7 separate regions of the Homo sapiens genome follow, and all the other regions are linked to region 1. The links are contacts of gene promoters, found by promoter capture Hi-C in blood cells and fetal thymus (Javierre and others, 2016). All regions are on one chromosome and are shown on one strand. Each heading gives the region's core, a stretch centred on a gene start or on the middle of the fragment in contact. The rest is flanking DNA. Distances are from core to core; before and after follow the strand shown.

What was found. Contacts are between HindIII fragments. The CHiCAGO score rates a contact against its expected background, and 5 or more counts as called.
Region 2: the fragment with the promoter of TRAPPC6B here is called in contact with the fragment with the promoter of EAPP in region 1 in 6 of 17 cell types (total B cells, non-activated CD4 T cells, fetal thymus and 3 more); the score reaches 17.7 in total B cells.
Region 3: a contact is called between a fragment that was not itself captured here and the fragment with the promoter of EAPP in region 1, in 1 of 17 cell types (M0 macrophages). The highest score is 7.0, in M0 macrophages.
Region 4: a contact is called between a fragment that was not itself captured here and the fragment with the promoter of EAPP in region 1, in 1 of 17 cell types (M0 macrophages). The highest score is 5.1, in M0 macrophages.
Region 5: a contact is called between the fragment with the promoter of STRN3 here and the fragment with the promoter of EAPP in region 1, in 1 of 17 cell types (M0 macrophages). The highest score is 6.1, in M0 macrophages.
Region 6: a fragment that was not itself captured here is called in contact with the fragment with the promoter of EAPP in region 1 in 1 of 17 cell types (erythroblasts); the score reaches 5.4 in erythroblasts.
Region 7: a fragment that was not itself captured here is called in contact with the fragment with the promoter of EAPP in region 1 in 1 of 17 cell types (monocytes); the score reaches 5.4 in monocytes.

The regions. Positions count from the first base shown.
Region 1 is chr14:34,537,042-34,541,453 of GRCh38, forward strand. It overlaps EAPP (E2F associated phosphoprotein), which reads right to left and starts at 2,660. Exons shown (of 6, transcript NM_018453.4): 1 at 2,514-2,660. The coding sequence starts at 2,587. It overlaps LOC105370447 (a long non-coding RNA gene), which reads left to right and starts at 2,708. Exons shown (of 2, transcript XR_943739.1): 1 at 2,708-2,743; 2 at 3,145-4,412. It overlaps LOC112268123 (a long non-coding RNA gene), which reads right to left. Exons shown (of 2, transcript XR_002957583.1): 2 at 4,193-4,412. RefSeq lists silencers at 502-796, 2,738-2,837 and enhancers at 1,863-2,787, 2,438-2,597. The HindIII fragment of the contact is 15,759 bases long and covers 1,708-4,412 here.
Region 2 is chr14:39,168,034-39,172,445 of GRCh38, forward strand. It overlaps TRAPPC6B (trafficking protein particle complex subunit 6B), which reads right to left and starts at 2,300. Exons shown (of 6, transcript NM_001079537.2): 1 at 1,982-2,300. The coding sequence starts at 2,062. RefSeq lists enhancers at 1,758-2,347, 2,107-2,156, 2,938-3,527. The HindIII fragment of the contact is 6,900 bases long and covers 2,081-4,412 here.
Region 3 is chr14:30,900,728-30,905,139 of GRCh38, forward strand. It overlaps STRN3 (striatin 3), which reads right to left. Exons shown (of 18, transcript NM_001083893.2): 16 at 1,809-1,916. Among named protein-coding and RNA genes, the nearest start is that of COCH-AS1, 13 kb to the left of the region's middle. The HindIII fragment of the contact is 3,836 bases long and covers 177-4,012 here.
Region 4 is chr14:30,986,520-30,990,931 of GRCh38, forward strand. All of the region lies in intron 1 of STRN3 (striatin 3), which reads right to left. Among named protein-coding and RNA genes, the nearest start is that of MIR624, 26 kb to the right of the region's middle. The HindIII fragment of the contact is 382 bases long and covers 1,844-2,225 here.
Region 5 is chr14:31,024,629-31,029,040 of GRCh38, forward strand. STRN3 (striatin 3) reads right to left here and starts at 1,751. Exons shown (of 18, transcript NM_001083893.2): 1 at 1,276-1,751. The coding sequence starts at 1,557. It overlaps AP4S1 (adaptor related protein complex 4 subunit sigma 1), which reads left to right and starts at 1,021. Exons shown (of 6, transcript NM_001128126.3): 1 at 1,021-1,159. RefSeq lists enhancers at 700-799, 870-979, 2,090-2,249 and silencers at 969-1,150, 1,290-1,549, 1,640-1,959. The HindIII fragment of the contact is 12,759 bases long and covers 1,086-4,412 here.
Region 6 is chr14:31,055,916-31,060,327 of GRCh38, forward strand. All of the region lies in intron 1 of AP4S1 (adaptor related protein complex 4 subunit sigma 1), which reads left to right. Among named protein-coding and RNA genes, the nearest start is that of STRN3, 32 kb to the left of the region's middle. The HindIII fragment of the contact is 1,364 bases long and covers 1,178-2,541 here.
Region 7 is chr14:31,108,515-31,112,926 of GRCh38, forward strand. It overlaps HECTD1 (HECT domain E3 ubiquitin protein ligase 1), which reads right to left. Exons shown (of 43, transcript NM_015382.4): 35 at 3,902-4,029; 36 at 883-1,084. It also overlaps the pseudogene RPL21P5. Among named protein-coding and RNA genes, the nearest start is that of STRN3, 84 kb to the left of the region's middle. The HindIII fragment of the contact is 6,849 bases long and covers 1-4,412 here.

The DNA of each region.
Region 1 (4,412 bases), core at 1,410-3,909:
CCTGTGTTGCCCAGGCTGGAGTGCAATGGTGCCATCTTGGCTCACTGAAACTTCCGCCTCCCAGGCTCAAGCCAACCAACCGCCTCACCCTCCTGAGTAGCTGGGACCACAGATATGCACCACCATACCAGCTAATTTTTTGTATTTTCAGTAAAGACATGATTTCATCATGTTGCTCAGGCTGGTCTTGAACTCTTGAGCTCAAGTGATTCTCCTGCCTTGGCCTTCCAAAGTGCTGGGATTACAGATGTGAGCCACTGCACCAGACCTGTATTATTTCTTATAACTGAATGTGAATCTACGAAAACTTCAAAATAAAATGTTTAATTTTTAAAAACTGAATCACAAAGTGAGAGCTATTTTTTCTACAAATTTTCTTCAATCCTTGTCATTATCTCAACCAAAGTCTCAGTTTTCAGCACTGCTGAGAAAGGCAGTCATACATCATGGACCCTAGATATGCAAGTTAAGTATGCCAAGAATGCAAGGTTCTGACCACTGTTCACTCCAGCCATTTCTCAGGATTGTGTTTGCAGCGAACAACAACCTTGAGGAATGAGATAATGTCTCCTTCCAGGACAAAGAGCAGATGTATTTACTGTCTTCTATGAAAGAGGTGGATTCTCCAAGCTCAAGTAGTCTTTAGCCACGATGCCAACCCACTGAATGTGCAGCATTCTTCTAGGACCCTCAGCGTAATACCTGTAGGGTTGACAAGCAAGAGCAAGCCACACAAACATGATGCTCATGCTGCTTGCTGTGCTATGTGTAGTCTTATCTTTGACCCAGGAGTCTCATGTCTTCGGTCAGCTACCGTGAAACAGTTAACAGGCTACAATGTATTAGTTTATAAACAGTGTAAAATTAAATACTGACAGACACCTCTCTAACACTAATCTCCCTTTTTAAAATAATAACCATTTGGCTCAGAGCCTACAACAGGCAATACTGTCTGATAACATTGTTTTGTTTTTATAATATTTATCTTTACAGTTACCTTACCAGTGGCAACTGTCACAGAATTATAAAGCTTCCTTAAAAAAATGATACAACAGTCCTGGCTCCGTGGCTCAGGCCTGTAATCCTAGCACTTTGGGAGCCCGACGCAGGCAGATTGCCTAAGGTCAGGAGTTCAAGACCAGCCTGGCCAACGTGGTGAAAACCCATCTCTACGAAAAATACAAAAAATAAGCCAGGTGTGGTAGCGCATGCCTGTAATCCCAGCTACCCAGGAGGCTGAGGCAGGAGAATTGCTGGAACCCAGGAGGTGGAGGCTACAGTGAGCCAAGATTGCACCAGTGCACTCCAGCCTGGCTGACAGAGTGAGACTCTGTCTCAAAATAAATAAATAAATAAATAAATAATTGAGACATACATATATACATACCTCCTTTCACAGACAGGACCCATTAACTGAAACTCTTTTTCACAGGGAATCCTGGTATCTATCCTCACTCCCAACAAAAGAAATCTTAACAGCAGTCTGATTTCCCATGCATCCAATGTCTCCCCATGACAATATGAGGAAACATTGTTCTTTTGATTTTTTTTTTTTTTAAGAAATGAGGTCTCACTATGTTGCCCAGGCTGTTCCTTTACTACCAGGCTTAAGAGATTCTCTCGCCTCAGACTCCCAAAGTCCTGGGATTACAGGCATGGGCCACCACACCCAGCCAAAGTTGTTAATGAAAGCATGGCTTTACAGAAAGCTTCTTTAGGCAGAATGAATGTTTTAAAGTTTAAGAATAGGATCTGCTGACAGCTTAAGAAATAACTAAATTTGTGTGGAAATATCTCGGCAAAACAGCTTCAAGTTTCCCTGGTAGAATAAAGCCCACCCTTCTGGAAATCCCACGAACCTTCTTCTGTGCCTATCTCAGGTCAATATTCTCTACAATGCTCTGCCAAGAAATATATACTTTATCTTATTACCCTTATTATACTATAAGCCTCTGGAAGACAAGGACCTTATGATTTATCTCTGTAGCTCAGAGCGAGCATACAACAGTCCCTGTCAAAAAATAAAAATAAAAAAGGCTGTTCAATATTCCCTTATTTCTGTTTATGGCAGTTTAGTCTTCAAGATGGACACTTCACATTAAGTCCTGTGAGCCTCACAACAAACATAGTGTGTTATACTATGTTATATAGGTTATACAATTATGTTATTATAGTTCAATTTTACAGGTGAGTAATCGAGGATAACTGACTTGCCTTCCGTCACTCTGCTACTAAGGTGTAGAGACAGGTTTCGATCTCATTGCTTTTGAAGATTTACACGCGGTCCCCCGTGATTCCGGAATATCCCTCTTCCTACAGGCGACATCGGCACCGCCTCCCCCCGGGACTGCGCGACCCCATCAGGAAAGCCCTTTGGCTTCGCACAAGTAACAGGCACGACAGGCTCCCGAGCCGCTAGGGTCTGCGTAGGCTCGGCAGGCGCAACGAATGGAGGCGACCAAAGCCAGGCCTCGACCCAAATCCTCGGGGGCCAGGGTGGGGCGGGAGCCCACCTGCTCAAAGCCGGCTCCTCGTCGCTAGGCTCTTCAACCGCGTAGGGGTCGTAGTCATCCGGAAGCCGGTTCATGGTGGCCTGCAGCGGCCTACACCGTCCACAAGCAATTTGCAGCGTCTCTGTTTACACTGCAAGTCCAGTCCCTAAAGCGCCCCTGACGCCACTTCCGCCTGAACGTCCCAGTCCCCCTTGCGCGCCCGCGCAGACCGACAGCACCGAGGGAGGCAGGTAGAAGGCGGGGAAGGGGCGGAGCAGGAGCGAAAAGGGGCGGGGACGGGACGGGGGCGGGTCTTAATCCCACCATTTTTGTTTTGTTTTGTTTTTTGGAGACGGAGTTTCGCTCTTGTTGCCCAGGCTGGAGTGCAATGGCGCGATCTCGGCTCACCGCAACCTCCGCCTCCCAGGTTCAAGCAATTCTCCTACCGCAGCCTCCCGAGTAGCTGGGATTACAGGCATACACCACCACGCCCGGCTAATTTTGTATTTTTAGTAGAGACGGGGGTTTCTCCATGTTGAGGCTGGTCTCGAACTCCGGACCTCAGGTGATCCGCCCACCTCGACCTTCCAAAATGCTGGGATTACAGGCGTGAGCCACCGCTCCCGGCCAATCCCACCATTTTCTTCCGCAGCTTCTGCTTACAGGAAAATAGCAGCTACCTTGTCACCAAAAATAATAATGATGGGCACCCTCATAAGTGACAGTCTCTGAGGTGAACATGCTACATGCAGCGTCTCATCACCTACGAAGCAGGAATCTAGACGCTGAGGGACACACAGCCCGAAATCCAATAAGTCCTCAGACACCAGCACCCACATCCCTCCAACCTCGCCTCTAACCCTTATGCCTTCCACACCATGAGGCTCTCAACCTCTCCTTCACACTGTTCACTCCTCAGTCTGACTGCGGCCTCAACAATCTACGAAAAGTTATCTTTTCTCGTCATCTTCCCAGTCCCCACTTTTGCTCAGCCCTCAACTGATCCCACTCGATACCTGAGGAGAACAGGCAGATGACAGCCACTTGAGCTCCATCGGGAGACTGTTTCTAACCCTGTTTCTGAACCAGGAACTCGGGTTCCTGCCTCCTACCGAGACACTGTGGCACTCTCTAAAATGTGGAGTAGCTGTAATAAATCTACTCCTGTATTATGCTTTACAGTGCAGGTCTTAGTTTTTCTTTTTTCTCATTTCTTTTGAAATGGCATCTCGAACAAAGTCCACCAATCCCTTTACAAAAGAATGAACTGCTCCTCTGTGTGTACTTCATAGAAGGTGGAATCGGACAGAAGCAGGTTAGTGACAGTTATTCCTGAAATACAGGAGCAGAGTACAGTCTGTTGTGGTTTCCCGGATTCCGCGCCTAGCTCAGCCAATTAAGCATGAGACATAGGCCATTGAGCCACTTAGTAGTTATGCGAGTGGATAGATTGGTATGTAGAGGGAAAGAGGTCTGCTGTAAAGAACAACACTTGTTTGTCTGTGGGGAAAGAAAAGCAGAATACTTGAGATGAAAGTTGGCATACAAATAGGATACTATCGCCAGTAGTTATATTACAAACATTATCGGCCTTTCTAGTGTGAATGAACATTAGACACATTATTGTCATTCCTAGTTTAAAGTTAAGGTTGCGTGGTTGGATTTTTCCACTATCTTTTTCTAATTTTTCTACCATTTGGAGACCGTAGGCATTTGGGCCTGTCACCCCTTGGATGGGTTCCTAGTTTGTTTACATTTTCCTGAACCCTCCTGAGCGCCCGTTCTTGGTCTAATCCCCAGTCGTGATGATTCCACACTTCCTCAGCCGCATGTTGTCTTGCCTCATTCATGAGCTGGTCAGCGTTTCGTCTCTTTAACTGACATGTTCCCCAGTGCTGTTTGAACTGTTGAGTTTCCGTT
Region 2 (4,412 bases), core at 1,050-3,549, 4.6 Mb after region 1:
TGAAACTCCGTCTCTACTAAAAATACAAAAAAATTAGTCAGGCATGGTGGCCGGCACCTGTAATTCCAGATACTCAGGAGGCTGAAGCAGGAGAATCGCTTGAACCCAAGAGGCGGAGGCTGCAGTGAGCTGAGATCACACCACTGCACTCCAGCCTGGGAGACAAGAACAAAACTCCATCTAAAAAAAAAAAAAAAGAGAGAGAGAGAAGAGGAAAGGTAAGAAGGGAGGGGAGAATGAAGAGAACTGAATACGCAAGTGGTTTGGGGGGATCGGGGGTTATGACAAAAAAGTAAAAGGGGTGTGTTAACTGTTCTAGAGGGAAAAGGAAGGCTAGCTTTGCACAAACAGTAAACCTTGAGGTCAATAATAAAGTCAGAAGTTTGTGACTTGAAAAAAATCTCTATTATAGATGGGTCATTTGAATAAGAATAGAATTCGCTTCATTTCCAATAACCTTCCAAATGTATCCTGCCTATCCTTCTTGTGCAAACTGGCAGTACCTTTTTTTGGATGTCATACAGGCACCTCAAAAGTTCAACCTGCCCCGAAATAACTCATTATCTTACCTCCTTATTTTTTTCTTCTCCTTTATTTCCTTTTCTGATTAATAGTACCACCATCCAACCCAGCTGCTCAAGCTGAAAACCTGACGATAATTTTCAACTCCCACTCCCATCCTTAAACAAGGCCTACAGAATTCCACTTTCTAACTTTCAAATCTGTTATCTCCTTTTCTCACTATCCCTGTCTTAATCCAGATCTTCATCTCCTCCTGCAGTGACTCCCGTAATAAAGGATTTTCCCCCTACAAGGATCTTCCCTCTCTAGCCCAAACACTGGATTACTTTTCTAAAATGCAAATGGTCCACATCATTCCCTTCCTTAAAAATATTCCCTCGAAAAGATCCGAATTCTTTAATTACACAAAGCTTTCTAACTTCACCTCTCAATTCTTCTCACTCTCTATTCAGTCTAGTCCAAAGAAATGCTTAAGTGTATTTAAATCCACCACTCTTTCATACCTCTACCACTTTATCTTTGCCTAGGATACATTTCCTATCCCCACTCTCCACTCATTTTTTATCAATAGCATTAAAGAAAGGGCTCCTGACTTGAGCATGACTTTGGAGTATTTCTAAAATCCGTTACAACTCCATGATTCTACCAGCCAATACTCAGTGTTAACTATTCATTAAATCACTATTCCCTAAATACTGTGAGGCAGGAGTATTATTTTATTTAATTTATCTAGCAGTGTCAGCAGTGACAGGCCCACAATGATTGAATAAGGACTCCCACATATTAGAAGTAACCGCTACATACTATCACATTTCGGATTAAATTAGATTAAAAAAAAATCTCTACAAGGATGGGGCCATTGTTTCATTCACTACTATATCCCTGGCACCTAGAAATCGCTCTGACATAAGGGCACTAAATAAATACTTTCTGAAATAATTAATTTAAATTATGTTCCCTAATTATCCTAACGCCTGCAAACTTTCCTTTGCAAACTCAACCTTCATTAGGCTTCAGGTCTCAAGTTGTGTGGAGTTGTACTGAGCATTAGGAATGAGGAAGGAGGGACAGGCTTCTCAGGTTGGCACAGGTCTGTCCAGTGCATGGCTCAAGTGCTGGAAGTGCCAGCAAAACTAAGTAGGCTCTGCAGTTAACCCTCTCGTAAATAATGGCAGGGACAACACTAAAAGTACCAAAATCTGTGGCGTGCAAGACAAACGTACGGGAATAGACAAAAGAGAATCAAATAGAAGAAGATACGAAAGAGAAAACGATGAAAGATGACGGTTCAAAGGAGACAACTGACAGGTTCTAGGGTTTAGGACACCTGGAGGTGGACCATTTTGTGTACACCTCGGGAGGCGTCGGGTGGCGATGGGACAGGGGTTGAAGGAAAGCACTGAGGGGAAACAAGGTGTGTCACCGCAAAAGGACCTCAAGGTTGTGTGGCAGCACTCACCACCTCCCCCTGCTCCGCGGACTTGTACACTCCAGACACCATCTCGTTATGGAGAAGCAAAAACAACGCCTCATCCGCCATTTCCTGCTAATTCTTCCAAGCTTCGAGTTTTGGCTCCCGTTTGAGCTGGTCTGGGGGTTCCAGCTCGCGCCTCAGCGACTTCGCCGGCGCCGCGGCTCCGTCAGGCCGCCATTCTATCCCTGTGGCTAAGAGACCGAGGTATTCACACGACTTCCCAAAGGCTGGTACTGAAATGAGTCTGGTACTGGAGAGAGCCCACACTTCGGGGCTACCAAATCCTAGGGCCGAACTAAAGTCTGACGGGAGCTCTAACCAAAGCCAACCAGCTGAGATGCGATCCGGCCGCTGGGCGGGGGCGAAAAAAACAACTTCCGGTCCCCTCTACCCCGGCATTCGGCCAGCTCTATGATCACTGAGTTCCTCTCTCCCAAGCCCGGAGAGGCCAGCGCCCAGATATGAGGAAGGTTCCCCTCTCACCACGATGTCGGGGGCAGAGCAAGATAAAATAAGACCTAAAGCTCCCGCCTGGCCCGGGCGCGGTGGCTCACGCCTGTAATCCCAGCACTTTGGGTGGCGGAGGCGGGTGGATCACATGAGGTCGGAAGTTCGAACCAGCCTGAGAAACCCCGTCTCTACTATAAGTACAAAATTAGCGGGGCCTGGTGGTGCATGCCTGTAATCCCAGCTACTCGGGAGTCTGAGGCAGGAGAATCGCTTGAACTCGGGAGGCGGAGGTTGCGGTGAGCTGAGATCGCGCCACTGCACTCCAGCCTGGGCAACAAGAGTGAAACTCCGTCTCAAAAAAAAAAAAAAAAAAAGAGCTCCCGCGGCCACCTCCTTGTTAATTAGCAATAGAAGTTAAAAAAATTCTTTTGGCTTCATCAAAAGCATCCACTTCCTGCCATATGTTCTTCAAATATGAAAAGTTGTAGAAAGAGTTTAAAATATACGTTTTCACAGTGCAAATTTTTTAAATATTGAAAAGTTATCCCAATTCCTATTGAATTAAGCCCGGGTATACAAAAAGAATTAGAGCCATTTTGACCACCAGGAATTTTCCTGTTAGTGGGGTGCAAGGGACAAGGGAAGTGGAGCAAACGAAAAACAAGATACACTTGAACCGGAAAATACAGACTAATCAGAGGATTAGGTGAAAAGTGCTATAGAATTCAGAAAAGCGATGTCACTGCAGGATGGAGTTGCTAATAATCTACAGCAGTGTGAGACAACTGTAGGAATTGTCCCACTGCATGTGCAAATAAATACACATGCTACATCATAGTATGTACATCTTAAATTTGGCAAATTCAACCGTAAGCATGTTGCTTAGCCTGTGATTAGTTCTTCCATTGGTAATTCACAAAACAAAATTTTTCCCCAATTGTCCCTGTTGTTTTCCCCCAAATTAACATACCGCAAGGTGGCTCATGCCTGTAAAATCCAGCACTTTGGGAGGCCGAGGCACGGGGGGTGGGGGGGATCACGAGGTCATGAGTTTTGAGAGCAGCCTGGCCAACATGGTGAAAACCCGTCTCCACTAAAAATACAAAAATTAGCCGGGCGTGGTGACAGGTGCCTGTAATCCCAGCTACTCGGGGGGCTGAGGCAGGAGAATCACTTGAACCTGGGAGGCAGAGGTTGCAGCGAGCAGAAATTGTGCCACTGCACTCCAGCCTGGGCGACAGAGCAAGACTTCGTCTCAAAAAACGAAACACACACACAAACTCTTCATGCCCTTTCACAGGAATTTAAGATCATGTTCCAAAATTTTAATTGTGGTAGGTTTTTTTTTTAAGCATGTCCCTTCTAATGTTTGAATCAGTTTATTCCATTCATCACGTAAATCCAGCATAAAAGCTCCACTTAAGCCTTTGAAAACACTAAATTGTGTAATTTTGAAGAGTATTTTGCCATGGTAATCTTAATTTTTCCAGCACTAAATTTTCAGTTATGCGAAATCAGGTCCTTTATGTCTAGATGACATTCTTGCCCTCATCACTACCATCAAGAAAAAGGAGTCCAAGTCCACCACACAAGTCAAAAAGTAAGTAAATGGCCAATTTATCAAAGTTGACTTCTCCAACCACAATAACATGAGGCTTTTAAAGTACGTTTCTGGATAGAAAGGAAACTTATTTAATGAGGACCTACTAACTATTGAACACAGCATCCTACTTATCCTTCTCCATAAAGTTAAATTGCCAAGGCTCCTAGGAATAGATCCTATGGAAGCAAGGACAGTGAGTGTGGTGTGTGTGTGTGTGTGTTTTGAGACAGAGTTTTGCTCTTGTTGCCCAGGCTGGAGTGCAATGGCACTATCTCAGCTCACTGCAACCCCGCCTCCCGGGTTCAAGTGATTCTCCTGCCTCAGCTTCCCGAGTAGGTGGGATTACAGGCATGCACCACCAAG
Region 3 (4,412 bases), core at 845-3,344, 3.6 Mb before region 1:
CAACAGAGCAAGACTGGCTCAAAAAAAAAAAAAAAGGATTTTTTTTTCTATTATTTGGAGCCTACTGCTTCAATTATCTTCATACTACAGGTAAGGTACTAGTTAACAGAAATAATAAATAGGTGAAATTTGGAAACAATTTGAAAGACTATATGCTGCTTATTTGATATTGAGTAAGCTTTTACTGACCACTTTCTTGATTTCTGCTAATAAAATAGCTTTTCAGATGCTCACCTTTTGCTTTTAATATAACTACTAAAATTCCTGAACTTTCCCATATAACTGTAAATCTTCAATAATTAATAAACAGGAATCTTTTTAGAAACACAAAGGAAATTAACCTCTTTGCTCTTGCAGCAGAGAAAAACATTATCGGTTTCATAAAAATAGTTCAAAGGATTGATTTGATGAAGTGTTAAATTGGGAACACTGGCCAGGAGCAGTGGCTCATGCCTGTAATCCCAGCATTTTGGGAGGCTGACATGGGAGGACTACTTGAGCCCAGGAGTTTAAGACCAGCCTGGGCAACACAGTGAGACCCTGTCTCTATAAAAAAAAAAAAAAATTTAAATATTTTTTTTAAAAAGAACATCCACTTGAATCTTATGTCCTGTGCACAATGTAGACCTGTAAATATTCACTTTGTCTGCAATTTGTTAAAAAGAATCTGTCCATGAAAGTAATGTTTGAACAAAAGGGTCTCATTGTTAAGACTACAGACTAAAACATATTGCCATTTTCTATATAATCTTCAAAGAGAAACCTATAATTCTGGGTCACTGTCTTACTTGATAATTTGTTACCCTGTAACAATGTTGCAATTAACATTTACATTTCTTATTTAGAAGTCCTTCAGTACCCTGACTGTTTTAGCCTCTCCTCAAAGTAGCCTTCCTAGCTGTCAGACCTTTCCTGAAAGAGAGCAAGCTATCTATTATCTATTATTCTAGGTAATGACTAGATAAAAAAGAGGCCCAAAACAAACAAACAAACAAACAAAAAACAACCACACATCTATGGCTAAGTTAAAATCTGATTCGACTTCAATACAACTGGTATATTTCCCTACAACAAGAAATACAGGGAAGATGATAATAAACACTATGCACTATAATGTCATTTGATCCACTGAGACATAGTTGTAAGAACATATTGGACGACCGGGCGCGGTGGCTCATGCCTGTAATCCCAGCACTTTGGGAGGCCAAGGCAGGTGGATCATCTGAGGTCAGGAGTTCGAGACCAGCCTGACCAACATGGAGAAACCCCGTCTCTACTAAAAATACAAAAAAAATTAGCCAGGTATGGTGGTGCATGCCTGTAATCCCAGCGACTCGGGAGGCTGAGGCAGGATAATCGCTTGAACTCAAGAGGCCGAGATTGCAGTGAGCTGAGATTGCACCATTGCACACCAGCCTGGGCAACAAGAGCAAAACTCCGCCTCAAAAAAAAAAAAAAAAAAAAAAAAAAAAAAAAAAAAATGGAAATGCCAAACACCAGAAAGAGATCTACCTCTTCCATCATACTTATTCATAACAGAATATGAGGGAAAAATTTCAAATGGAAGGATCTACATTTAACTAACATGACTTGAAGAAATCGTAATAGCTAGGCAAGGTATTATGTCTAGTTAAGGATAAAATAACAAATCATAAGCGTGCAACATTAAGAAAAGCAAAAATCTGAGTTAAAATGGTTTCATTTGGCAATTTCGTATCTGAAAAGTCAATATATCTTACATAAAACAGCATTTTTGATCATCTCAAATTTACAGTATTACTAATATGAAAAGAAGACAATTTGCTTACCCGTTTTATTGTCAAAAAATTTGATGTGTCTATCTTCATGAGCAGTTATTGTAACAGGAAGTGTGGGATGACTTACTACTCTGTTGATATGATTATTAGATTGTAAACCTGAAAAATAAAGGAAGACAATAAGTTAAAATTCAAACCTTTAATAAGAAGTTGGATAATGGCCTTTTTAATCGTGCTAAAATATAAAAATCATTAAAAACTAAACCTTTTGCATAAAACAAAAAATCTGAGAACCAAACAAGGACTCTAGAGAGATTTTTAAAAAATAAACATTTACATTATTATGTCCTATAATATAGACTGTACTAGGCTCAAATTTAGAAAAACTGAGAAGTGTTTTAATGCCACCCTTTATTATAGGTAGTTTAGAATTTTTAAAAGATCCACAATTATTACTTCTAATACACAGTCCATATAAGAGTTATAAGCATTTAAAGAAGGAAAACATTCACAATTGCTAGTCAGATGTTTGTAAGGAACAACCCCCATCTACCTACACTGACAAAAACAAAAAAACAAAGAACTGGAATTAATGATCTTTAAAGATGAGATTTTTTTCTTTACCAGTAAGCTCTTACTAACTTTTTATTAAAGATGAGAGAGAACAGAGAAATATCAAAACAAATAAATGGGGGGAAACTCCTCAATATTAATAGACTTTAGATCATTCATTCTGCTTATGTATCGCAACTCATATATTACACCTAAACATATAAAAAATACATATATATATATAGTTACCTATGTAGAGTAATTAAAAAAATAGGTTTGAGGAGATACTGGGAAAGAGACTTAGAAGATAATTTTGGTTTAAGATCTGACCATGGCACCATGTAAATATTTTACATAATTATAAAACAATTTTTTTTGTTTAAGAGACAAGGACTCACTCTGTCACCTAGGCTGGAGTGCAATGGTGCAATCATAGCTCACTGTAACCTTGAACTCCTGAGCTCAAGGGCTTCTCCTGCTTCAGTCTCCAAAGCTAGGACTACAGGCACACATCACCATGCCCACCTAATTTTTTAAGTTTTTGGTAGAGATGGGGTCTCACTATGTTGCCCAGACTGGTCTCTACTCCTAGCCTCAAGCTATCTTCCCACATTGGCCTCCCAAAGTGGTGAGATTACAGGCATGAGCCAATGCGCCCAGCCAACAGTTGTTTTTCTAAAAGAAATTAATGAAAATCAAAAGTAAAATTAAACAAATGAACTTAAGTATATCCAACTGGTGGTGTAACTACAAAGGAAGGAACTATTCCAAGTGACTTTAAAGCATAGAAATTAGATTGTATATCACTAGTGGAATATACCCTAATTACAAAGTTTTATTATCAATATTTGATCTTTTGGTGGTAATGGTATTATTACTGAGACGATTCTGTGTACACTGTGGGGTAAATAAAATGAGAAACAATTTTGTTGAGAACCAAGATAAATCTGAAGTTGAAGTATTTTACTTTTTAAAAAATGTTTATTTCTTAGCTCTGTCCATTGAAAAAGCCTAACACAATGAACAACCCAGGAGCCATGAAGACCATGAGGATCAACTCAACAGCCTAGTACCCCAACTGTAGTCTCTAAATACCATTTCCCACTAAAAGAAACCACAACTCCTTAGATAAATAGCTGATTTCAGATCTAGGGCACAAAATGAACAACATGAACCTAGAAGATCTTGTCATATGTCATATCAGGAAGCTATCAACAACAACCAAAGTCATGGCAAAAGGACTCAGGAGCCAACATGAGCCCCACTGAGTAAGCCCCACTGGCCAAAATCAAAGGATCTGAACAGCAATAAATAAAGATAATACCTGCAATGGATCAAAACACATCAAATACATTTATATCCATGAGAGAGTATGATGATACCAAAAACACCACCCAAGACAAACTGGTCACCTTTAGAGGGTGCTAGCAAACCAACTCATTATTTTAAAAACTGGTAAATAAAGGGGAAAACCAAAACCCAATCATTTATCTTGCCTTTTTCCTTAATACACACTAACTCCAAGGTAACCAAATTGTTGATAAAGAGATGTTCTTTTTTATAGGAATAATCTAGCTAATAAATGGAGAGGGAATGATAAAATTAGAAAATCTTTCAATAGAAAATGAATGAACCCAGGAAATAATCCAGACTGAAAACATCACAAAAACATGAACAACCAGAAAATACTCACCTCTGATAAAAGCTTACAAATTACTTATGAAGTAAAGTTGCCAAGAACATTTAAAAATTTTTAAAAGAAAAAAACAGTGAACCTGAATTTGAATAAGTCTTTAGATCTATAATCAATTCACAGGAGAACTGTGAATAGAAATAGAGAAGCACATTAAATAACACAGGAATGCAACTAGCAAAATCCAGACTGTCGGAAACTTGACAAGACAAAGTAGCCAATTTCGTCAATTAAAAAAAAAAAAAAAAGAACATAAAAGAGATGAAGGGGAATCTATGGATGAAGAGAGACCTGAGAGACCTATCAAACAACTGCAATACATAAATCTTATGTGATCCCTATCTAAATAAACTGTAAAACACCACATAATGCATGTGTAATACTGGGCATTTATAGATAGGTATTAAAAC
Region 4 (4,412 bases), core at 785-3,284, 3.6 Mb before region 1:
AACCTTTTAGCTACTAACACTATTCCTATATTTCTTTTACTTTCCATACTATGCAGAAAACAAGTTCCTTGAAAACACAGGCCACATCATTTTATCCTACTATAGTGCTACCCTAGCATCATGCAAATTACATTTTCCATCCTGCATAATGCAGGTGCCAGCTAATACTTATTGAATAAGTTAATGTTTCCCCAAGTCTTGGAAATAAATAGAAAAAAGTACAATTCATTTTGGCTCACACCTACTTTAGTGTAATGTAGTGCCACTCTTAAACAGAAGATATCAACTATTTTTTTCAGTAATGAAACTGTTAAAGGAAGGAAAGAAAAATCAATGGTGAATTTCATCTCTCACACATACTACATATTTAATTTACTCTTTATAGTCTTTCTCAAATCCACAAAGCAAAAAGTTCATTTTTTTATATTTTGGTATCTCCATTTATTTCACTGTATGGAAGGATAATCAAAAAAAATACTCAAGCTCTAATTACCAACAAAATTTTGTTTCTTAATTTCAGTGTTTGCATAAACTTACCCTCTTTATGGTACAAGAAGGCATACAGTCCTTTAAACACACTTACTAGTACAGGCTGTACACTGTGATAGACTCTGAGGATATAAAGAACAGTAAAACTCCAAAGAAAGGGCAAGAGTAACGTAGAGGCATGGCAGCCGGAAAAAGAAAATATAAAATACAATTTAAGGGCCAGGCGCAGTGGCTCACGCCTGTAATCCCAGCACTTTGGGAGGCCGAGGCAGGCGGATCACAGGGTCAGGAGATCGAGACTATCCTGGCTAACATGGTGAAACCCCATCTCTACTAAAAATACAAAAAATTAGCTGGGCGTGGTGGCAGGCGCCTGTAGTCCCAGCTACTCAGGAGGCTGAGGCAGGAGAATGGCGTGAACCCAGGAGGCAGAGCTTGCAGTGAGCTGAGATCGCGCCACTGCACTTCAGCCTGGGTGACAGAGCGAGACTCCATCTCAAAAAAATAAAAAATAAAAAAAAACATAAAATAAAATTTAAGCTGAGGCTAGAGAAATACGTCACAACCAGGCCATGTAGGACCTTGAGGTTCATATTAGAAATTTGGAGGAGCCATGGTAGCTTAAAAAGTAAAACAATAAAATAATCAATATTTGCATTCCAGAAAGATTATTCTGACTACTCGCTGTGATTCTGCCCACAATATTTTCTTACATTCAATCAGTTGAATATAATTTTTTTTTTTTTTGAGACAGACTCTCGTTCTGTTGCCCAGGCTGGAGTGCAGTGGCGCGCGGTCTTGGTACTGCAACCTCTGCCTCCCGGGTTCAAGCAATTCTCCTGCCTCAGCCTCCCAAGTAGCTGGGATTACAGGTGTGTGCCACCATGCCCAGCTAATTTTTGTATTTTTAGTAGAGACGGGGTTTCACCATGTTGGTCAGGCTGGTCTTGAACTCCTGACCTTGTGAATCGCCCGCCTAGGCCTCCCAACGTGCTGGGACTACAGGCGTAAGCCACCGCGTCCAGCTGTTTTTCTCACTTCTTGCAGTGCTTTCTTCCAAATGTCTTGTATATTAAAGCAAGTTTTACATTCCTTCACTGGACTGTGAGCCCTGAACAGAAGCCAAGTCTTCCATTATTCCAAACATTCAATAAATGTTTATTATACTGAACAAGACTAACACTGATTTGACATATTAAAAAACAATGTCCAAGATGCTCAGCTAGGTCCTGTGACACGAGCAGCACTTTGGCCTCATAAGCAAATCCTAAAAGGTATTATCAACCAAACTCTGACCCTTATACTCAAACTAAAATTAATAAACAAAAAGCTGTTCCAGGTATTAACTTTTCTAAGCTTATCTCTTTATGCCCCTTTCTGCTAGCACCACAACCTATTTTTATTTGTTATTTACCTTTCTTAATTTTACCAAATATATTTACTCAACGAACATATACAATACAAAGTAGAAATCTGCTGAGCCCAACTACAACAAAATTAAAGCATATCAATGAATGGAGATGAAACAGCAAAACTTGGTTGGAATGCAAATTTATTCCTTAAAATCTGAACATTTAAAAAGAGAAAGAGAATAATTAATAAAGAAAATGAAGTCATGGTACAATTATAAAGCAGGTCCTCTCACTTTTCTCTGACAAAGTTTTGAATGACTCATCTACTGTCCTAACAGGCTATTTTCAAGGTTCTCTCCATTCTACCATTATCCTACATTTTCAAGCTTATTTTTCATCATTCCTCTGTACTCTACCACAAGTGAAACATGCAACATTCCTCAAAAAAGACCTTGCACTTTACAGCCATCCAACTTTTGTTCACACTATTTATACCACAGGAAGTGAATATTCCAGCTCTATAATCTCCACTTCCAATAATGAATTATAATTATTTTACAAATTAGGCAACTAAGCCACCCCCTCTGGAAGTAAAGTGTCTTGCTCACGGACACTGTCTTGGCTAGTAAGATAGAAGAATCAGGACAGTAGATCTCAAGTCTACTGGCTTCCCAGGGTCCAATGCCTTCACTACCCCAGGTAGATTCTTAACCTTCAAAAATAAAAAGACTCATATGAAAAGGAATTTGAATCATCCACAGAAAGTAGTCTGGTCAAGTTCAAGATAAAGAGAGGGGTCAGTTACCTTATTCTTTGGCCCACTAAGCAATCACTTAAAGACCCCTGTTCTAGTAACCTGCCCAGCCTGGACCCTGCCACAAACAGATTCTGACTACCTTCTTCACCGTGAACTTCCTCTATCTTCACAGCAATGGCACCCATACCTGGAAGAGATGGCTTGCTGTTATATACCTAGGCCTGACTTCAAAAGCCTTCCTCTTCATGGCAGCCCAATGATATAGTGACTATTTCTCCAAAGGTAGTAGATTGGGAGGTAGCGAGACAGCAGCAACAAAACAGTCATTTAAACACAGGATTTTTATTTATTTATTTATTTTGAGATGGAGTCTGGCTCTGTCGCCCAGGCTGGAGTGCAGTGGCGCAATCTCAACTCACTGCAAGCTCCACCTCCCAGATTCACGCCATTCTCCTGCCTCAGCCTCCCGAGTAGCTGGGACTACAGGTGCCCGCCACCTCGCCTGGCTAATTTTTTTGTATTTTTAGAGATGGGGTTTCACTGTGTTAGCCAGGATGGTCTCTATCTCCTGACCTCGTGATCCATCCGCCTCAGCCTCCCAAAGTGCTGGGATTACAGGCGTGAGCCACCGCGCCCGGACAAAACACAGGATTTATAGCCAGACGGTAGGAGATTCCAATGCATAATTCCAACCCTAACACATACTAACTCATGTGACCCTGGGCAAATTAATTACCTCAGTTTCCATATCTATGAAATGGGATGATTAATATGAATTGTCTGTCATCAGTTATTGAAAGACTCACAATGGTGACAATGAAGACTAAATCAAAAAAATGGAAGGCTCAGATACTTTAAGAGCATGTGTGTCATTTCAATTCAGAAATGTGGAATGGGACAGAACAAGAGGCTATAAACTCAGGAAAGAGGGACTCCTATACACATTTCCTGAAAAAATCCCTGGGCCTAATGACTCAAGGAGTTAAAGAGAAGTAACAGTAAACCAGAGTGGCAAGAGTGTTCTAGCAGTCTTCTGAGGGCACTATGACTTTTTTTTTTTTTTGAGATGGAGTATCACTCTGTTACCCAGGCTGGAGTACAGTGGCGCAATCTCGGCTCACTGCAAGCTCTGCCTCTCGGGTTCATGCCATTCTCCTGCCTCAGCCTCCCAAGTAGCTGGGACTATAGGTGCCCGCCACCAGCACACCCGGCTAATTTTTTTTTGCATTTTTAGTAGAGACGGGGTTTCACCGTATTAGCCAGGATGGTCTCGATCTCCTGATCTCATGATCCGCCCGCCTCAGACTCCCAAAGTGCTGGGATTACAGGCCTGAGCCACCGCGCCCGGCCAAAGGGCACTATGACTTTTAAGAGATGGCATGTACTTGATATGCAAAAGGGGAGACAGGTTCCTTAACTTATAATGAAGACCACAGAATTTAGGGTGTATATGAGTGCCAAAAAATGTGACCATGACTTGTCTCCCTAAAGCTGACACAGCACAGATTTCATCTGTTAAAATACAGTTGGCCCTCACTATCTGTGAGGGAGCGGTTTCAGGACCCTCCTAGGATACCAAAACGCAGAGATGCTCAAGCCCTTTATATAAAATGGTGTAGTATTTGCATATAACCTATGCATATCCTCCCATATACTTTAAATTATCTCTTGATTACTTTAAATACCTAATACAATGTAGGTGCATGTAAATAGTTGTTATATTATACTGTTTAGGGAATAATGACAAAGAAAAAAGTCTGTACATGTGCAGTACAGATGCAACAGTCCTTTCTTTTCCTTGAATATTTATGATT
Region 5 (4,412 bases), core at 501-3,000, 3.5 Mb before region 1:
AGTTTACTAGTTCAGAACCAAACTAAAGAGATGCATATTTGAGGACACCCTTTCTAGTTAATCCAATCCTCCTCCTTTCAGCACTACATTTGCCTAACGATTCACCATAGGCATATGACATATATGACAGCAAATACTGCTTACCCCCTAAATACACAACAGTCTGAAGAACAGGTGCAATACTATTTAGACACACGCTTTTTCCTTCTAAGCCTAAATTTGCCCTGGAAAGGTATTTAAAAATAAACACAAATACCCAAGAAAGTTAAATAACCCTTTCAAAAAGATGCAGCAATTTTGAGATCCAGGACATGAGCTGTTAACTACCAACAGCTTCCAAATGTGCAGCCTATCAAAGGTTCACATTATGAGGATCGAGTCAAGCTCAACTATGAAGGGTTCCGAGAACATCTCACTTTGCTTCTCCTGCAAGAGTAAGTAACATGATATAACTACGTTTCACTTCAAGGGAATATTAAATCTCTTCAGTCGTTTCATAAATACAGCATCGATCGTCTGGTTTGGTTTTTTTATAGATAAAGAAACGGATGGGGGAAAGGAGATCTAGTGGAGAGTACTGTAAAAAGAAAAATTCAGTGCTGAAAGCGTTGATGAGTCACTAAGTAAGGAATAACTACAGAGAATCCAAGTGAGTAAGGCAGCATCTCAGGTGAGAAAGTACTTAAAGTTGACGATGGGAAATAAAACTTCACAGGTCAGTCCCAAGTCACTGTGCACCCTAGCAGCCCAGGAAAGAAGCGTGGCTGTCAAGGGGCAAGCGCGTACCAAGTCTGAGGGAGGGGGCCAGATACGCCAAATCGGAAAGGGGGGTGGTCCGGAAAAGGGGGGTAAGATGCCTATCCTAGTCCCTCTCTTCGGGCTCTTCATCTCAAGAGGAACAAACAAGAGCAAACTCAGTGTTGAGAGGCCCCAAACCGGACTCTCCCACAGAGAGGTGCTCGGTCCCAAGCCCCGGAGGCCCGGGAAGGCCGCCTCCGGAGGAGCCCCCGCAGACGCCATACTAAAAGCCAAAATGGCTGCCCCGAGGAGGCCCGCACCGCGTAGCCAGTGAAGGTTGGGGAGCAAGCTTATGCGGGAAAGAGGGAGGGGGACTCCAGGAAAAGCCGTTGAGAGGACCATCACAACCTGAGCAGCACAGGTAGGTTCCGCTCGGCCTCCCAAGGCGCCGGCTCCGGCTGAGTGGAGTCCCCAGCCCCACCCCCCGGCCGGGAACCCAGCCGCCGCAGCTCCCGCACACCGACCCCAACGAGGTACCTGCAGTTCGGCCCGTTCCACCTCCCAGTGCGCCCGCTCCATCTCGAACCGAGCCCACTCGTGCTGGATGTAGTGCAGTATCCCCGGGATAGTGTACTGCTGCGGCCGGGACAGCTCGGGGCCTGCCGCGGGACCCGCTCCCTCGGAGGCCGGAGGACCCCCGCCGCCCGCCGCTCCGTTCCCCCCGGGCGAAAGGCCCAGGTTCCCCCCAGGTCCCTGCTGCTGCCGGGGAGGGGCCGCCATCCCCGGGCCGCCACCACCGCCTCCGGCAAGCTCGTCCATTGTGTGTGGGGCCCCGGCCGGGGCGCAGGGCGAGACGCCGACAGCTGGGGGAAGGGCCGGAGAGGGTGGCCCCGCGCTGGCTGCGGGGCGGAGGCCGGCCGGGAGAGGGGCGGGGAAGGGGTCGTTGCTGTGTGCCTGCCGTGGGTCAGAGCAGGGAGCTGCCGGCTGCCGCCATTACAATCCCTCCTCCATCTGCCCGTCTCACTCACTCACTTTAGGGGAAGGGGGGGCCTCGGCGGGAGGGGTGGGGGGAGAGTTGGGAAGGGGATAGGCGGAGGGCCGTCACTAGCGCACAGCATGCTGGGTAGCGAACGCAGCCTCACGCTTAATCGCCAAATAGAGTCCGGCCTCACCCTACGCCGGCGCACTGAGAACGCAGCCCGGGTCGCCGTTAGAGGGCGGGGAAAGAGCTCGGGCTCCGCCCCTAGGCCCGCCCTCAGACCCGATCCGGTGTCTGGCCGCAGCTACCGGACACCTGGGCTCCGACTCTGACTTTTGGAAGCGAGGCGGCCTTAGGCTTCCTGGTTATCAGTTTCCTTTTAGCAGGCCGTCCCCGGGCGCTGTTTCCTTCCCAGGGGTCTCTCACCCGTGTCCCGGCTTTCTGAGCTGGTTGTTAACCTGGCTGGTCGCTCTGGCCGACCGCATCCCGTCTCGGATTCCTGACGTTTCTTTTTCATTCTTTGAGTGTTTCAGGCAGTCCCAAGGGTGGGCCCTCTTTCCCTTCCTGTCACTCGCTCTGCCTCTGGTTTCTTAGAACCAGTCAGTTCTCTGCTGGCAAATAGCCAAGATCCTCCGGCTGTGGTTACTGATTCCTCGTCTCTGTCTTGAGCCTGGGCTTTGGTCCCATTTCTATGCGCTCGGTCGCCCGTCGTAACTTATTCCACTTTGCGTCCCCTCTTCTTTCCTTTTCTGGAATGGGTTGTGGGGGGGTTGGGAGAGGGGGAGGAGCGATTTTTTTTTTCTTGGGAGAAGAAGAGGTAGTGAATTCCTTTAGATCTTGACGATGATGGGTAGAGGGAGAGAAGTTTGAAGGAGACTGGCTAGACTAACAATTTGATACGGTAGAAATGAATGGGCTCACAAATATTGTCATCAATAGACTATTTTGATCGAAACAGAAAATAAAAGCACTGTGAGTACAACTTAAAATCCTAGATGAATGTTCTCCTGGGTCATTAAATGTTTAAGTGAATATGGCCGGGCGCGGCTGCTCAAGCCTGTAATCCCAGCACTTTGGGAAGCCGAGGTGGGCGATCACTTGAGGCCAGGAGTTCGAGACCAGCTTGGCCAACATTGTGAAACCCCATTTCTACTAAAAATACAAAAATTAGCCGGGCATGGTGGCGCACACCTGTAGTCCCAGCTCCTGGGGAGGCTGAGGCACGAGAATTGCTTGAGCCCAGGAGGCTGAGGTTGCAGAGAGCCGAGATCGCACCACTGCACTCCAGCCTGGGCGACAAAGCGAGACTCCGTGTCGGCAAAAAATTTAAAAAGTTTGAGGAATGTAACATATACATAAGAGACAAGGCTAATATTTTAAGTACAATAGTGGGTACTTTTATGTGCTTAGTTTCCTAGAAAATATCCTAATGCACTAGTGTGTTTCTAAAAATTAATATAGCTAAGAAGCATTTGTTTGAAAAATAAGACAAAAATAATTAACAACATAAGGAAATTAGGTTCAGTAATTATATTAATAGCGATGCAGGAAAATTGCATTGAAAATTTGTTACTTTTTAAAATTTTTTTTCTTTACTGCAAAAGCCAATAAAACTTGTACTATGGAGTATGCACTACCAACCAATCAGGAAGTAATTTCAAAAGAGATTAAGTAATGCATCTTATTTTATCACATCTGCTTTACTGTTATTACAGTTTAATGGAAAGCAGATTGGACCTGTTACTCATGCTGCCATGTTTTATTTCTATATGAAATGAGATCTTAGATTGCAGTACTATAATGTTAAGGACCATTTCTTCAAATTATTATTTTATTTATTTTTTTTTTTTGAGACAGGGTCTCACTCTGTTGCCTGGGCTGGAATGCAGTGGTGTGAGCTCTGCTTGTTGCAACCTGGAGCTCCCTGGCTGAGGTGGTCCTCCCACTTTAGCCTCCTGATAGCTGGGACTCCAGGTGTGCATCCACCAAGCCCAGCTAATTTTTGTATTTTTTGTAGAGACGGGGTTTTGTCATGATGCCCAGGCTAGTCTCCAACTCCTGGCTCAAGTGGTCCACCCACCTTGGCTTCACAAAGTGTTAAGATTACATATTTCTTCAAATTATTAAAGTACTATTTATCTTAGAGTTACCAACATACAACCTGTTTATTCATCCAATTCCTTTTTAGGGGGCGTCATAGCACATAAAAAGCTCAGAAAAATTATGCTGCCTCAAAGACATACACACACATACACACACACACACACACACACAGAGACATTTGTGGCCAGGTGCGGTGGCTCACACCTATAATCCCAGCACTTTGGGAGGCCGAAGCGGGCAGATCACTTGAGCTCAGGAGTTGGAGACCAGCCTGGCCAACATGGCAAAACCCCGTCTCTACCAAAAAGTACAAAAATTAGCTGGGCGTGGTGGCGCTTGCCTGTAATCCCAGCTTCTCTGGAGGCAGAGGGGGCAGTGAGCCGACATCATGCCACTACACTGTAGCCTGGGTGAAAGAGAGAGTGAGATTCCATCCCAAAAACAACAACAACAACAAAAACCATTTGTGAGAATGGTTGACCTGATGATAGCATCAAAAGAAGACTAACATGCACACTTATAACTGGTAACTTGAGCTTAAGGAAAGACTGGATTTCTTATCCTTTTTGTCTCCTCACCTACCCTCAAAACA
Region 6 (4,412 bases), core at 610-3,109, 3.5 Mb before region 1:
TCACTGCAACCTCAGCCTCCTGGGTTCAAGCGATTCCCCTGCCTCAACCTCCCAAGTAGCTGGGATTACAGGCGCCCACCACCATGCCAGGCTAATTTTTTTTATTTTTAGTAGAGATGAAGTTTCACCATGTTGGCCAGGCTGGTTTTGAACTCCTGACCTCAAGTGATCTGCCCGCCTCGGCCTCCCAAAGTGCTAGGATTACAGGCATGAGCCACTGTGCCCGGCCTTATCATTTTCATTTCTAAATCTACATACTCTACTTTTTGTTTTCTCTTTAGAGACGAGGTCTTGCTCTGTTGCCCAGGCTGGAATGCAGTGGCTATTCACAGGCATGATCATAGTGTACAGCAGCCTCAAACTCTTGGGCTCAACCAATCTTCCAAGTAGCTAATACTATGGATGCATGTACCTGGCTACATACCATACTTGTTTTTTTTCTTTTCTTTCTTTTTTTTTTGAGATGGAGTCTCACTCTTGTCGCCCAGGCTGGAGTGCAGTGGCGCGATCTCAGCTCACTGCAACCTCCGCCTCCTGGGTTCGGGCGATTCTCCTGCCTCAGCCTCCTAAGTAGCTAGGATTACAGGTGTCCGCCACCACACCCAGCTAATCTTTGTACTTTTAGTAGAGATGGGGTTTCGCCATGTTGGCCACACTGGTCTCGAACTCCTGACCTCAGGTTATCCGCCCGCCTTGGCCTTCCAAAGTGCTGGGATTACAGGCGTGAGCCACCGTGCCCAGCCTATACTGTACTTTTTCATGCAGTGATTCGTTTGGCATTTTCCAGATTAATTGTGCAGCGGTGTTAGAAAAGAGAATAATGACTGGATCACTTCCAAAGCTACCTGAAGTTAATGCTCATTAAGCTCAAGTGAACATTTGGCTGGGCACAATGTCACGTCTATAATCCTAGCACTTAGTGAAGCTGAGGCGTGTGAATCACTTAAGTCCAGGAGTTCAAGACTAGACTGGGCAACTGGAAACCCCGCCTTTACAAAATATACAAAAGTTAGCTGGGCATGGTGGTGTGCACCTGTAGTCCCAGCTACTTGGGGGGCTGAGGTGGGAGGATTGCTTGAGCCTGGGAGGTCAAAGTTGCAGTGAGCTGTGATTGTGCCACTACACTCCAGCCTCGGTGACAGAGTAAGACCCTGTCTCAAAAAACAGAACAAAAAAAAGCTTAAGTGAACATTTAATGACACTGATATGTAGAGTGAGGCAATGTGATAGATTAAAGACAGCATTGTAGTATGAGTCAGGGGAGCAGAATTCAGGACTTCACTCTACATCTCTGATCAGTTTTCCCATCTACAAAATGAAGGGAATACACCTCAGGGATGACAAATATAAGGTGCATATGTTGCCACTCCCTGCTTCCTAACCTACAACTGACATGCCATCCTTTTGTTTTGAACCTGGAAGCAGCTCCAGAATCCTTCCCAAAGCAGCTATTAACAGTTAGTCACAGTTGACACCCAAGTTGAAACCCATTTGCCATCTTTGGATATGACAATCTGTAAAGACTCTCCTAGGTCTAACTCCCAGAAATACGCCATCAGAAATATAATACCTGCTCAATTCAATGTGTACTTCGTTCAGCCTCTTCAATCTCTCTTTTCTCTGGGCATTAAGTTTACATCATGTGGTTGCTGGGACATGGATCTGAGCATATTCTACTTTTATGTTGTTTTGGTTTATTTTATTTTTATTTTATTTATTTATTTTTTGGAGACGAAGTCTTGCTCTGTCACCCAGGCTAGAGTACAGTGGTGCAGTCTCGGCTTACTGCAACCTCCGCCTCCTGGGTTCAAGTGATTCTCCTGCCTTAGCCTCTCAAGTAGCTATGATTACAGGCACCCGACAACACGCCTGGCTAATTTTTTTGTATTTTTAGTAGAGAAGGGGATTCACAATGTTAGCCAGGCTGGTCTCGAATTCCTGACCTCAAGTGATCCACCTGCCTCGGCCTCCCAAAGTACTGGGATTACAGGCGTGAGCAACTGCACCCAGCCAGTTGTTTTTTTTTTTTTTAGAGATAGGGTCTCCATCTGTCACCCAGGCTGGAGTGCAGTGGAGTGATCATAGCTCACTGTAGCCTAGAATTCCTGATCTCAGCCTTACTCTCCCAAGTAGCTGGGATTACAGACATGAACCACCACACCCAGCTCTTGTTTTTTCGCTTGTTTGTTTTTTGTTGTAGAGGCATGGTCTCCTATATTGCCTAAGCTGGTCTTCAACTCCTGGCCTCAGGTGATCCGCCCACCTTGGCCTCGCAAAGTGCTGGGATTACAGGCATGAACCACCTCGCCTGGCCCCGTATTCTACTCTGAATCTACCAGTCTCACTAGTCTTAAAAGCATGTTCATGCTAATCCAAGGAAAATGCTTGTTTGATTCCTGCTCTAAGTAACCTTAACCTTCTTTTCCTCTCGGGGTTTTCTAGATTCCCTTGCTAGGGCATCCTAGCACCATTTGTGTAATGCTTTCCCCAGTGAAGTTGCCTTCTTTCTTCTTCCTTGATGTATATACACACATTCACACAAGCTTTTGCCTGTAGCATCTACTGACTTCCTTCCTGGTCATCAAAACATCTTCCCCATCTCTGTGTGTGTATGTGTGTGTGTGTGTGTGTGTGTGTGTGTGTGTGTGTGTGTGTGTGTGTTTAGAGATAGGATCTTGCTCTGTTGCCCAGGCCAGAGTAGGAGTGCAGTGTTGTGATCATAGCTCACCACTGCCTCCAATTCCTGGGCACAAGCAGTCCTCCCACCTCAGCTTCCTAAGTAGCTGGGACTATAGGTACACACCGCGATGCCTGGCTTTTTTTTTTTTTCCTTTTTTTTTAGTAGACATGGCGTCTCACTGTATTTCCCAGGCTGGTCCCCAACTTCTGGGCTCAAGCTATCCTCCCACCATGGCCTCTCAAAGTGCTACAATTATAGGTGTGAGCCACCACACCTGGCCCCTTGTGTGTCGTTAAATGCAAATAGTTTAAAACAGGAAGTTCATACCTGCTCCCTGACCACTCCCAACACTTGTCTAAGCATATTCCCTTCTTACTGTCCTACCTCAGTTTCATAATTATTTCATCTCCCTCCTCCTTGATGATTAATAACCATGATAGGTGCTTACAGCATTCATCTTCAGTTCTCAGATGTGTACTTGTCTCTTGAGTCTCCACATTGTTTATTTTGGCATTGTATATTCTATAGTAAAAATAGTTTACAGTTGTGTTTCTCTAGTTTTTTACCACTGCATCATGCTACAGTTAAAATTGTCTAATGTTTAAGAGCATGCAAGAAAAGAAAGATATATGCAAGTCTTTAGAAGCCTTCATTTACTCTTTTCAAAACTTAACATCCTAATGAATATCAATTCAACATGTCCTTATTTGTCATCCTTGTTCTTGAAGTCAGTGGGAAGGAATGCTGTGCTTGTAAGGTAGAAACCAATTTGATCCCTTGTTGTAACACCTCAGTGAGATCTTTTTACATCTCATTTTACCACTTAATGCAAGCAGGACATTTAAAGGCAAAGGTTTGGCCATGAGTACCTTTGAGACATTTTTTTCCTTTTACCTGGCAGTTGAAATCCAAGGTATAGAATTATAATTTCTAACTATCATAAAGATGGTTTTTAAATAACTTTGCTGAAATGGAGTAAAAGAAAGGATGGTAATCTTAGCTTCCTGGTAACCTGCCGTAATTTACTGACAATAATTTGTGAGGCAAATAAAAGCAGCAGTTAATACCAAATGATTAAACACCACAGAGTATGTTGCAATCCCACCCACAGCCATGAGCTTATCTTCCTGGAAAAGGGAGTGAATGGCCACAGGCCTCCCCCATGGCACAGCTGTTATATCCCCAGCTGAGCTGGTCTAGATAAATGAAGGCAACAACCCCAGGCTTGGCCACACTGGGCCTGGCTCTTTACAGCTTAGTGTGTAGAATTGCTGTAAGATAACCACCTGTCTGATAGGGCTTAGGAAACAAGAAATGAGCTGGGAGGACAAAAAAATATATATATATATATTTATTTATTTATGTATATATATGTATTTATGTATATATGTATATATATTTATATGTATTTATGTATATATGTATATATATTTATGTATATATGTATATATATTTATATATTTATGTATATATATTTTTATATATATAAAACTTAGTCCAAGTATTATATCATAATGTTGTTTCTAGTTGCAGCAAGGAAATAATACAGTTGACTCTTGAACAACACAGGCTTGAACTGCACGGATCCATTTATATGCACCTTTTTTTCCCACCAAACACAGATGGAAAATACAGTGTTTGTGGCATGCAAAACCCCAGTTATATGGGGCTGATTTTTGTGTAGGTAGGTTCCACGGGGCCTACTGTGGGACTTGAGTATGCACGGATTTGG
Region 7 (4,412 bases), core at 617-3,116, 3.4 Mb before region 1:
GATTATCTATATTAGAAGAATGTAAACAACTGGGCATGGTGGCTCAAGCCTGTAATCCCAGCACTTTGGGAGGCCGAAACGGGTGGATCACTTGAGCCCAGGAGTTTGAGACCAGCCTGGGAAACATAGTGAGAACTTGTCTCTATTAAAAAAAAAAAAAAAGAAGAAGAAGAACATAAGGGTAGGAGGAATACAATGAAAGTCTGTATATAAAGTGAAAGATGTAAAGCCTTGGACATCTTCTAGAGATGTATCATATTTCTTGCAATTAGTTTATGATCCAAAAGTTAAAAACAAACCAGTTGGATTCACCCCTGTGACAGGAGACGTATTTCCACTCTTCCTCATATAGGGAATACTGTGTATATGAAATAAAACCAACAATGTCCACAGTAACATTTCTAAACTAAATATATTAAATGTCATACTACCATTTGCTATAACATGTCTCAACACAGACCAGTGATATAATACCAAGCACAATTCAAGTGAAACAATATTACAAAACCAGGTGCTCCCAAAATATCAAACAGCACAGTTTAATGTAAAAGTAAAAAAGAATCCCTTGTGAGTACTACTATTTTAGTCCAACTTTGTTATGAAATGGGTAGAAGCCCTCAAGCAGAACAAGCACTTTGCCACCTCAAGAGTGGAGATCTTCTTTGTTGCTCATTAATGGCACAAGACCTAACCCCTAAGGAGGTGGACTGACATCCTCTTATGAAAAAGATGCTCTGCCAGAGGAGAAGGCTTCTGCCTACAGAACAGGAAAACCCCTCTTCATGTTTACCTACCACAGTTTTTAATGCAGTGAAGATACACATTGGGCTGGTTCCCTAAGTGTCATTCCTGTTCCCTAAATCTAATTTTATATGAGATTACCTCAAGAACTGATTTCCGATCTGCATGTATTTGCATGACATTCTCAGCCCATTCCATCAGTGACTCGCCACGTGGAACTTTTACTCTTTCATGCTTGAGACGACCAACTCGAAACTCTCCAGGGTCATCTCGCCTAACACTGCTTGTGGTTCTCGTTCGCTCCACAGTGGCTTCACGTCGGTTCTGTAACCATACTATTGCTCTGAAATAGAAAAATATCTATGAGCTGCAGCATACGTTAACAGCTGAATGTACTACTAAACCAGCAACAGAATTCAAAGATTTAAGAAATTAAAAAATAGTATTTTATCAGGTGATTTTTAAAACACAGTAATCTTTTTTTGTTACATAAACTGCTTCCTGTCACAAGTAAAAATATATGAAACTCCTTTTATTATAATCTGCCTTAAGCAAACTGAGAAAGTACTGGGTCTATATTTTGCCTCCTTATTTTAGCAGTTCAATAAAAATAATAATCTGTTGTCCAAGCCCCAACATCATTCAAAAAAAGGAAAAATGTTTCCTATCAGAGAAATTTAGAAATGATTAAGCTATCTTTCAAACTGAAAGCCGCCATCAAAACGGTAATTATAATTTTAAAACAATTTTTCTTTTTTTTTTTTGAGATGGAGTCTTGTTCTGTCACCCAGGCTGGAGTACAGTGGCATTATCTCGGCCCACTGCAACCTCCCTATCCCGGGTTCAAGTGATTCTCCTGCCTCAGCCTCCCCAGTAGCTGGGATTACAGGTGTGTGCCACCACGCCCAGCTAATTTTTGTATTTTTAGTAGAGATGGGGGTTCTGCCATGTTGCCCAGGCTGGTCTTGAATTTCTGGCCTTAACTGATCCACCCGCCTCAGCCTCCCAAAGTGCTATGATTACAGGCATGAGCCGCCACACCCGGCCACATTTTCTTTTTTTTAATAACAATCCATTTATGGTGGGAGGAAGAACCGACAATTAGGAATAAGAAGCTGAAGGTTCTACTCTCATGTGTGCTACTATTTTCTCATGATCTTAGGCAAATCAGCTAAGTACGTGCAGAATCAATTTCCTCATTTATAAAACAAATTATAATCAATGCCAGTTATCACAACATGCCTATAGTTCTATGTATATAAATGCTTTGTAAATGGCATTAAATGGTACAAAAATGTAACTATCAGGGAAGAAAACAAACAGTTTAAATTATAACTTTTTTTTTACAACTATTTTGGAAGAGTACTTAAGGTAAACAATCATTCAACAAAATATTTATTGAGCACCTACAATGAGTCTTGCTCTGTTGCCCAGGCTGGAGTGCAGTGGTGCAATCTCAGCTCACTGCAACCTCTGCCTCCCGGGTTCAAGCAAATTCTTATGCCTCAGCCTCCTAAAAAGCTGGAATTACGCCCAGCTAATTTTTGTGTTTTTTTGTAGAGATGGGGTTTTGCCACATTGGCCAGGCTGGTCTCGAACTCCTGGCCTCGAGTGATGTGTCTGCCTTGGCCTCCCAAAGTGCTGGAATTATAGGCATGGGCCACCGTGCCCAGCCTGAAAACAGAAACTTTTTAAATGCTTTTTTTTTTTTGGTAAATTACTTCTTCCATGATTAGAGGGACTATCTTCAAAGTAGTACAAATATTTCGTAAATAATATCTGACCATTTTCTAACCAATTGAGTAATTTGTTGCACAATAAGCCATCTCACATCTTTCAGCAAGAAATACATTAAATTTGAATAGTAAAGACATTACACAATTAGGCTTAGGACAAAATTAAAATTTGCCTGAAGTATTTCTTTGGGGGAGAGGACACCACACTTCTACTCAAGGAAGAGAAACATTTTTACAGTCCAGAGGTCTTTTATTTTTATCTTTATTTTTTATTTTTTTGAGATGGAGTCTCGCTCTGTCGCCCAGGCTGGAGTGCAGTGGCACAATCTCTACTCACTGCAAGCTCCACTTCCCAGGTTCACGCCATTCTCCTGCCTCAGCCTCCCAAGTAGCTGAGACTACAGGTGCCCACCACCACACACAGCTAACTTTTTGTATTTTTAGTAGAGATGGGGTTTCACCACGTTAGCCAGGATGGTCTCGATCTCCTAACCTCATGATCTGCCCGCCTCGGCCTCCCAAAGTGCTGGGATTACAGGTGTGAGCCACCGCGCCTGGCTATTTTTTTTAAACACTATTATGCATGAATTCACAGAGAAGAGGTTCCAGCAGCTCAGACTTCTTTCCCTTGGTTTTCACACAGCGCGCTTCTCTGGGTGGAACAGGCTGGCACTTCAGCTAAATGCAGGTACCTTTCTCTTTGGCTTCCTTCTTTTTCTGATCATTTTCCTTCATGTGTTTCAGGAAGCTATCTCGGCTCTTAGAGTGCTTAATGTGCTCAATATGCACATTAATTCTCTTGGTAAGAATCTTGCCCTTGTTTGTTTACAACAATGCCATTAGCCACGCGTGGTGGCGTGCACCTGTAATCCCAGCCACTCAGTGGGGCTGAGGCAGGAGAATCGCTTGAACCTGGGAGGCGGAGGTTGCAGTGAGCCGAGATCACACCACTGCACTCCTGCCTGGGCGACAGAGCGAGACTCTGTCTCAAAAAAACAAAAACAAAAACAAAAACAAAAAAACAGCAATGCCAACAGCCTGCTGGGTAACACTGTAGACTCTTCCAGTTTAGCCACGGTAACACTTGTGGGGCATTCCTTTTTGAACAGTACCCATTCCCTTAATGTCTACAGTATCACCTCTCTTTTAGATTTGCATATACGTGGCCAAAGGAACAACTCCATGTTTTCTAAAAGACCTAGAAAACATCTATCGGGTATCTCTCCTCCTTTCCTTTGGATTAGTCATTTTGGCGAATTACTAGAAGATTGGTAGTTCAGGCCAAAAGGCAATGCTGACTATTCTTTATAAGAATACAAGATAATATATTCCCTCTATCAGTCTTGACAGTATAGTTGTACATTTTCAACTTACATAACATAAAAGCATACTTATTCTAAAAACATAAAAAAAAGGCTTCTTACCTTGAGGCGCCAAATGCTGTACATGTGAAATAAAGCTGTCTAGTTTCAAATGGTATTAGAAAAGGACATTTGCTGGTTAATTGTTCACACCAGTCTGGCAGAGCCCCACTTGCCAGTGCCAATGGTTCCTGCGAATTAACAAATAATAATGTCTTAGTGCTATAAGGCATTCATGCATGCATGCATTCATTCATTCGTTCATTTTTTTTTTTGAGACAGAGTCTCACTCTGTTGCCCAGGCTGGTGTGCAGTGGTACGATCTCGGCTCACTGCAGCCTCTGCCTCCTGGGTTCAAGCGATTCTCCTGCCCTAGCCACCCAAGTAGCTGGGATTATAGGCATGTGCCACCGTGCCCAGCTAATTTTTGTATTTTTAGTAGAGACTGGGTTTCGCCATATTGGCCAGGCTGGTCTCGAACTCCTAGCCTCTAACGATACACCCACCTTGGCCCCCAAAATGCTGGAATTACAGGCATGAGCCACCACACCTGACCCTATAAGGCAATTATTAA